Linked DNA regions of Homo sapiens: regions 2 and 3 are each linked to region 1. The links are contacts of gene promoters, found by promoter capture Hi-C in human tissues and cell types (Jung and others, 2019). All regions are on one chromosome and are shown on one strand. Each heading gives the region's core, a stretch centred on a gene start or on the middle of the fragment in contact. The rest is flanking DNA. Distances are from core to core; before and after follow the strand shown. Region 1 holds the start of CAMSAP3 (calmodulin regulated spectrin associated protein family member 3). Region 2 holds the start of CD209 (CD209 molecule). Region 3 overlaps ARHGEF18 (Rho/Rac guanine nucleotide exchange factor 18).

Region 1 (2,700 bases), core at 189-2,688:
GGAAATGCATGCATGGAACGACGCAGACAGAGACTGTCTGGGAGAAAGAGGGACAGGCTGGGGCGGAACCAGGAGACGGACAGCTGTCACTGAGACCCACACCCAGAACAGGTTGATCTGGGAAGGCCAGGGAGAGGGGGGATGGGCTGTGCCAACACCAGTGGGCAGAACCAGTGGGAGAAAAGGATGTACCCCCACAGCTCCCCGCTGGAAAGCCCAGACCTTAATTAACCCCTGTCTTCTCTGGCCAGGCCCTGACTCCTAGCTCTGGCCTGGGGTTGTGAAGCTGCCCAAAGCCGAGACTGAGTGTTTCCAGGGCCTCTAATCCCGGGGACCCGGGATTACGGCATCCTCCCCATTAGGGTGGCTCGGGCTCTCAGGCAAGCGGGCCTGGGGGAGGGAGTGAAGGATCTGCTCTAATGGGAGAAGGCCCCGCAGCCGGGAGGAGCGGGGGGCCCACCCCAGGCGATCTTGTACTACCCATTTCCCTTCAGCTGGGCTCGCCAACCTCCCCAGTAAAATGGGGCCATAAGTCGCAGCTGCCAGGCGCTGGAGGGGGCTATGGAGGCGAAAGGGGGTTCCCAGAGCTCCCCGGTCGCCGCCCGCAGCGCGGCCAGGGCCGACGCGGGGTGTGTGTTGGGGCCTGGGGGTCGTGCGGTGGTGGAGACCGGAGCGCTCGAGACCCCCCAGCGAGGTCGGGGTCTGGGTCTCCAGGGTGTGTGGCGGGGGAAGAGACCGAGAGGAGATCCTCGCAGGGGCGTGATGTGTGTAAAAGAGAAGAAGGCGTGCAAGGGAAGGCCTTGGGGGTGCGGGAGGCGGGAACGAGAGGTCCGCACGGGGAGACCCCACCCGGCCCGCAGACCCCGCCCGGCTCACCTGGAGGCTTGGACGCCGGGGACCCCCGCGCGGAGCTGGGCCGCGGGCCCCACCCCCACCGCGCTCCCGCAGCCGGCGGGGCAAAGTCCACCGCCCGGGCCGAGCAGGAAGCTCGGAGGCCCCGGCGCGGCAGGGGCCCGAGCCCGGGGACCCCCGGCGGCCGGCGCTATTGTTCCCACGGCCCCCTGCCTTCCCGGCCCGGCGCCCCGCCCCCCCCCAGCACCTGCCGCGCCCGGCCCGCCGCCCCCGACCCCGGTCCCCCGAGCCCCGGTACCTGCGCCCCCGAACGCGGCCCGCAGCACCCACGCCAGGCTGGCCGCCGCCTTGGCCCGCGAGAAATCGTACTGGTCCAGCGACTTGATCTCGGGCACTAGAAAGGTCCTCCGCAGCGGCCCGGGCCCGGGGGGCGCCGCCTCCACCATGGCGGCGCCGGGGCTGCGGGCGCCGGGTCCGCGCTCGGACTGGGCTGGGCTGGGCTGCGCCGCGCTCGCGCCCCAGCCGGGCCCGCTGCTGCTACCGCCGCTGCCGCCGCCGCCGCCGCCGCCGCTGCTGAGCCAGGTGCGGCCGCTTGCGCTGGCGACGCTGCGTCGGGCCCGCCCCGGGGAGGAGCCCAGGTGCGCCCCGCCCCCGAACCCGGACCCGGACCCTGGCGCGCCCCTGCGCCCCGCCCGGGCCCCTCACTGCAGTGTGCACGGAGCAGCAGGGGCGGGGCGGAGGGGGGCGGCCTGGACTGCGGCGATGGTGGAGGGAGCTTGCGGAGGACTGAGTGTGTATGTGTGCGCGCGCGCGTGTGTGAGTGTGTGCGCGCGCGCCTAGCTTACTGGAAAGGATTAGGGACCCTCTGTGTGTGCCAGCCCCAGTGTCTACCCTTAGGCGTAGGAGCTCCTGCAAGTGCTTGCAATAAACGCCGGCCCTCAGGCAGAGAGTGGTTGGGTGCACCTGTTTCTGATTATGTTAGTGAAGGCACAAGAATATGAGTGTCTTCGTATCTGTGTATCTCTGAATACATTTGGGTGGTGACCAAGTGTATTGGGGGGTGTCTAGGGGTGTGTGTGTGTGGGGTATGTATCTGGGCACGTGTAAGTGTGTGTTTAATTTGTTGTGTGTACAAGGATATGTATTATATAGATGTCTGTATCCTGAGGATGGATGGAAGTGATGAGTGTGTGTCTGTTTTTTGTTTTTGTTTTTGTTTTTGTTTTTGAGACAGGGTCTCACTCACTCTGTCTCCCAGGCTGGAGTGCAGTGGCGCGATCTCGACTCACTGCAACCTCCGCCTCCCAGGCTCAAGCGATTCTCCTGCCTCAGCCTCCCGAGTAGCTGGGATTACGGGGTTGCGCCACCACTCCCGGCTAATTTTTGTATTTTTAGTAGAGTTGGGGTTTCACCATGTTAGCCAGGCTAGTCTCAAACTCCTGACCTCAGGTGATCACCCGCCTCAGCCTCCCAAAGTGCTGGGATTACAGGCGGCAGCCACCGTGCCCGGCTGTGTGTGTGTTTTTGGAGTGCTGTGAGTATGTCTATCTCTGTGCATCTGAACGTACTGGTGTGTTGTATGAGGCTGTTATTGATGCCTCTGTCAATGCAGGAGTATGGAGAGACATTGAGAGTGTGTGTATTTCAGGCCGAGAGCGGTGGCCACGAGTGTAATCCCAGCACTTTGGGAGGCCAAGGCGGGCAGATCACTTGAGGCCAGGAGTTCAAGAGTAGCCTGGCCAACATAGCAAAACCCCGTCTCTACTAAAAATAAAATTTTTAAAAATTAGCCGGGCATAATGGTGCATGCCTGTAATCCCAAGTACTCGGGAGGCTGAGGCGGGAGAA
Region 2 (2,700 bases), core at 132-2,631, 150 kb before region 1:
CACATCATCTCATCTGGACCAGATTCTGTATGGGTCTGCAGGGTTGTGGCCAGAAAACAAGTTCTTCCAGTTTCCTACCTCATTACCATGTGAAATGTTACCATTAGGAGAAACTGGGTTCACATTAGGGATCCCTAGGTGAGGGATTTACATATGGGAAATCTCTTTCCTACATTTGCAACTTTGCTATAAACCCAAAATTATTCTAAAATTAAAACATTTTAAAAAAGAATACAAAGTAAAGATCAGGTCGAAAACCACTATTTGATTATGATACATGTATGTATTTTCCATCTTTAAACTGAGATTTAACACACATGTGGTAAATGCACATCTCTATGATCAAAATATAGAACATTTCCAGCATACAGAAACCCCGTTGTCAATCTCCACCTGCTCCTTCCTGATAATTCCCATTCTGAGTCTCCTTCAAAGGTTAGTTCTGCCTGTTCTCAAAATTCACACAAAATCAAATCTTACAGTGTGTACTCACTCTGTCTGGGTCCTTTTACTGTTTTGTGAGATTTATCTATGTTATTAAATGTACTAGTACTTTGCTTTTTCATTGCTGTATAGTATTCCAATCTTTGAATATGCCATTATATTTTTTATCATTCACCTGCTGGTGGACACGGGGTTGTTCCAATTTCAGATCATTCTAAATAAAGCTGCTATGGATCTTTTCTTTCCTCTTTGATACTATTTCACTCTTTGGTTAACAGCATGCACTGTGGAGGCAGACTGGGTTCAAGTCTCAGCCCCACCATCTACCAGCTGTGTGACCTTGGGCCAGTTAGCTAAACTTGCAGTGCCTCCTCAGTTTCCTCATCTGTATAATGGAGGTCATATGATCTACTGAAGGGTAGGAACATTAAATGAATGAGTTTATAAAGCTGTTGGAAAAGTACCTGACTACCCTAGGCATTAAATAAACAAGCAATTATGATTCTGCCCCAACTCCCAAAGTCAGCAGGAATTCCCAAAAATGAGGACAGCAGCAGCTCAAAGCAGGAAAGCCAGGAGGTCACAGGGGACAGTGCTTCCAGGAACTGGGGGTGCTACCTGCCTACCCTTGCCCTAGTGGAGGGGGTGTAACACAGTAGCTTTCTCTTACAATTTATCAGATTTCATTAAAAGCATCCCACTGCTCAGCCATCCATGAGTGGATGAGTCCTTCTCCCTGTCAACCCCAGACCATCCCCCACTGCCTCCCTGAAATTCTTGAAAGATCCGGCCCATCTCATGCTCTGATGCTTTCCACTAGTCTTTTGGATGACAGATCCCTACCCAACTTCCTGTTTCTCTTTCTGTGGGAGACTAGATTTAGGAAGTAAAGATCACAGGGTGGGAAATAAAAGCTGTGGCCCCCAGGAGTTCTGGACACTGGGGGAGAGTGGGGTGACATGAGTGACTCCAAGGAACCAAGACTGCAGCAGCTGGGCCTCCTGGGTGAGGCTGGGTTGGGACGCTGGGATTCTGGGAAGGGGGAAGGGATGGCCAGCCATGGCCTCAGCCTGCCCAGGCTCTGATTTCACGTCTATCCATTCAGAGGAGGAACAGCTGAGAGGCCTTGGATTCCGACAGACTCGAGGATACAAGAGCTTAGCAGGTAGAGAGGACTTAGCAGTTTGGGAGGAGAGACGAGAGACTCCTGGACTCCTGGGTCCTGAGGAGCTGGACGCTGGGGCCTGGACTCTTGGGTCCTGGGGATGTGGGGCTAGGGGCCTGGACTCCTGGGACCTGAGGAGGTTGAGTTTGGGGCCTGAATTCCTGGTTCCTGGGAAGGTGGAGGCTGGGGCCAAGACTCCTGGGTTCTGGGGAGGTAGAAGTTGAAGCCTGGGTTCCTGGGTCCTGGGGAGGTGGGGTCAGGGGCCTAGACTCCTGGGTCCTGGAGAGGTGGGGGCCTGGGCCTGGACTCCTGGGTCATGGGGAGGTGGGGACTTGGGCCTGGGTTCCTGGGACCTGGGGATGTAGGGGCTGGGACCCAGATTCTTGGGTCTTGGGGAGGTGGGAGCAGGTACCTGGGTTACTGGGACCTGGGGAAGGGGAGGCTGGGTCCTGGGTCCCTGGGTCCTGGGGAGGTGGGAGCTGGGGGCCTGGGTTCCAGGGACCTGGGAATGTAGAGGCTGGGGCCTGGATTCCTGGGTCCTGGGGAGGTGGAAGCAGGTACCTGGTTCCTGGGACCTGGGGAAGGGGAGGCTGGGGACGGGGTCCCTGGGTCCTGGGGAGGTTAGAGCTAGGGCCTGGATTCCCAGGTGTTGGAGTGGAGGGGGCTGGGGCTGGGGTTCCTGGGTCCTGGGGTGCTGAGGGATTTAGACCAGGCTCTCCCTGGGCCAGGCTCCGGTGGGGACACTGGCAGGCTGACGCATGTATCCTCTCTCAGGGTGTCTTGGCCATGGTCCCCTGGTGCTGCAACTCCTCTCCTTCACGCTCTTGGCTGGGCTCCTTGTCCAAGGTCAGGGGCAGGTTCTGAGGGTCTGGGGTCCCCACGCCTGGCTTTTGGCTGTGGACACAGCCTGGGGCTGCCAGATCTGGGAGGGAGGTGGGACTGAGAGCCAAGATGTTGTCCCTGGGGGTCTGTAGGGGCCTCTCCCACAGCCCCTCCCCACTCTAGGGCAGGACAGGAGAGGGAGGAGGAGGAGGACAGGAAGAATCTGGCTCTCCTTGGCCTTCTGTGCTGCCTTCTCCAGGTGTCAGTTT
Region 3 (2,700 bases), core at 92-2,591, 180 kb after region 1:
AGAATTACAGGTGGTAAGCCATCTTGTCTGACCTGCCCACCTTCTCAGTGAAGCCCCAGAGGCCACCTTGTTTAAAATATCATCCAGGCCAGGTGTAGTGGTTCACACCTGTAATCCCAGCACTTTGGGTGGTGGCTGAGGCGGGTGGATCACTTGAGGTCAGGAGTTCGAGACCAGCCTGACCAACATAGTGAAACCCTGTCTCTACCACAAATACAAAAATTACGCAGGTGTGGTGGTGCGTGCCTGTAATCCCAGCTACTTGGGAGGCTGAGGCAGGAGAATCGCTTGAACCTGGGAGGCAAAGGCTGCAGTGAGCCGAGATGGTGCCACTGCACTCCAGAATGGGCAACAGTGTGAGACTCCATCTCAAAAAACAACAACAACAACAAAAACAGCCGGGCATGGTGGCTCACGCCTGTAATCCCAACACTTTGGGAGGCTGAGGCGAGCGGATCATGAGGTCAGGAGATCGAGACCATCCTGGCTAACACAGTGAAACCCCGTTTCCACTTAAAAATACAAAAAATTAGCTGGGCGTGGTGGCGGGCACCTGTAGTCCCAGCTACTCGGGAGGCTGAGGCAGGAGAATGGTGTGAACCCGGGAGGCAGAGTTTGCAGTGAGCCAAGATCGTGCCACTGCACTCCAGGCTTGGCAGCAGAGCAAGACTCTGTCTCAAAAAAAAAAAAAAACCCAAATAAAATATCATCCACCCCAAAACACACACACACACACACACACACACACACACACACACACACACACACGAATTTTCTCCGTGAGGCACATCACAGCCTCCTTGCACTCAGGGGCACTTGCTGGCACTGCAGCACTACGTTTGAAGGTCATTTTATTTTCTAAAAAATTTATTATTATATTGTTATTTTAGAGATGAGGTCTCTGCTGCCCAGGCTGGACTGCAGTGGCGTGATCGTAGCTCACTGCAGCCTCGAACTCCTGGGCTCAAGGAATCAAGGGATCCTCCTGCCTCAGCCTCCCAAGTAGCTGAGACCACAGGTGTGTGACACCATGCCTGGCTAATTAAAAAAAATTTTTTTTTTAGAGATAGGGTCTTGCTATGTTGCCCAGGCTGGCTGGTCTCAAACTCCTGGGCTCAACTAATCCTCCTGCCTAGGCCTCCCAGTGTGCTGAGATTATAGGCATGAGCCTCCTCGCCCAGCTAGGGGTCATTTTCAACATTAACATCACCAACAAGAAGCACACAAATGCGAAAACCGTGGTACTCCATAGACCTTCAACAGGGCATGTGTTTACAGTGTGAGAGGCTGAACGAGAAGGTGGAGTGTCGCCTCGCTCAGCCTCAGCTGGGAACCTGTGTGGGAACTCCAAGTTTTCTCCACTCTGCACCAATATGAATGGATTCATGTTGCGGTTACAGAGAAATTTTAGCAAGCGGGTGAAAATTAAACAAAGAATTACCATCCGATCCAGCAATTCTACTCCTGGGTATATCTTCAAAAGGGTAAACACTGACTCTGCAAATCCCAAGGCTCAACTGTAGTTTTGTTTATTTAGAAGGGAAACTCCAGGAGCTGCGGGTCTCTGTGGTCATGGCTGGCACGAGGCCTGTCATGTGGTGGGTGGGTGCTTAACAAATACGCGCTTCAGGGAGGGAGGGAGAGGACGTCTGGGAGGGACCTGGTCTGGACCGGTCAGAGAAAGGAAAGGGCAGGGTGGAGGGAATGTCTTATTCCAGGAGGTTCTGCCATGGGCCTTGGGGGCCCTTGGAGAGTCACTTTGTCATTGAACCTGAAGCCACGGAAAGGTTTATGTGGAGGATTGGATGAGCTCTGCTTCTCGAAACGATGGCTGCAGCGTGGGGAGCAGGGCACACTGGAAGGGGTTGCTGGTGGACGCAGGGGGACCGGGACCTCGAGGGCAGGGTGGAGAGTGGCAGAGAGGGGCGGTGCAGGGGCCATGAAGTGGGGGGCAGAGTGGCGGGCTCGGCAGCAGGCAGCCGCTGGCACGGGGTGTTGCGCTCAGGAGGGCGCTCTAAGCAAGGGGTGGACATTTGGGCCTAAGGTGCTACCTGAAGCCCGGGAGAACCCAGGAGTGCCCAGGAGCAGGGTTAGGGAGGTGGTTTAATGGAGCTGCCTGGAGATTCAATGGGATAAGGGATGGAACTAAGGTCCTTGGGTCCAGCTTTGTTGAAAGCGGTCTTGGGAGCAGAATAGCTGAATGGCATGCGTGGTTTTTATTTTGGGGGAGGGGAGAACACAGTTGTATCATAATCACTGGCTCAAACTAGTATTATTTTATTTATTTATTTACTTATTTATTTTGAGATGGAATTTTACTCTGTGGCCCAGGCTGGAGTGCAGTGGCACGATCTCGGGTCACTGCAACCTCTGCTTTCTGGGTTCAAATGATCCTCTTGCCTCAGCCACCCGAGTAGCTGGGATTACAGGCACCTGCCCCCACACCCGGCTAATTTTTGTATTTTTATTGTTTTTGTTTTTTTCTTTTTTTTTGAGACAGAGTCTCGCAGTCGCCAGGCTGGAGTGCAATGGCGCGATCTCAGCTCACTGCAACCTCCACCTCCCGGGTTCAAGCGATTCTCCTGCCTCAGCCTCCAGAGTAGCTGGGATCACAGGCACGCACCACCATGCCCAGCTAATTTTTGTATTTTTAGTAGAGACGGGGTTTCACCATCTTGGCCAGGATGGTCTCGATCTCTT

Evidence for each region. The method cuts DNA at HindIII sites, captures the fragments that hold promoters and counts their contacts. A contact is called where the count stands out against the background at its distance.
Region 2: the fragment with the promoter of CD209 here is called in contact with the fragment with the promoter of CAMSAP3 in region 1 in 4 of the 25 tissues and cell types used here (liver, mesenchymal stem cells, psoas muscle and 1 more).
Region 3: a contact is called between a fragment that was not itself captured here and the fragment with the promoter of CAMSAP3 in region 1, in 4 of the 25 tissues and cell types used here (dorsolateral prefrontal cortex, liver, mesendoderm cells and 1 more).

The regions. Positions count from the first base shown.
Region 1 is chr19:7,594,601-7,597,300 of GRCh38, reverse strand. CAMSAP3 (calmodulin regulated spectrin associated protein family member 3) reads right to left here and starts at 1,438. Exons shown (of 17, transcript NM_020902.2): 1 at 1,151-1,438. The coding sequence starts at 1,298. RefSeq lists an enhancer at 1-459 and a silencer at 1,299-1,738. The HindIII fragment of the contact is 16,585 bases long and covers 1-2,700 here.
Region 2 is chr19:7,746,215-7,748,914 of GRCh38, reverse strand. It overlaps CD209 (CD209 molecule), which reads left to right and starts at 1,381. Exons shown (of 7, transcript NM_021155.4): 1 at 1,381-1,449; 2 at 1,550-1,609; 3 at 2,384-2,455. The coding sequence starts at 1,404. RefSeq lists a silencer at 1-32, an enhancer at 1-313, cis regulatory regions at 533, 1,068, 1,203, 1,265, 1,274-1,278 and 8 more and promoters at 1-1,385, 939-1,387, 129-1,387, 1-1,387, 1,167-1,403 and 7 more. The HindIII fragment of the contact is 15,961 bases long and covers 1-2,700 here.
Region 3 is chr19:7,414,599-7,417,298 of GRCh38, reverse strand. The region is part of intron 10 of ARHGEF18 (Rho/Rac guanine nucleotide exchange factor 18); the gene reads right to left. Among named protein-coding and RNA genes, the nearest start is that of ARHGEF18-AS1, 21 kb to the right of the region's middle. The HindIII fragment of the contact is 7,415 bases long and covers 1-2,700 here.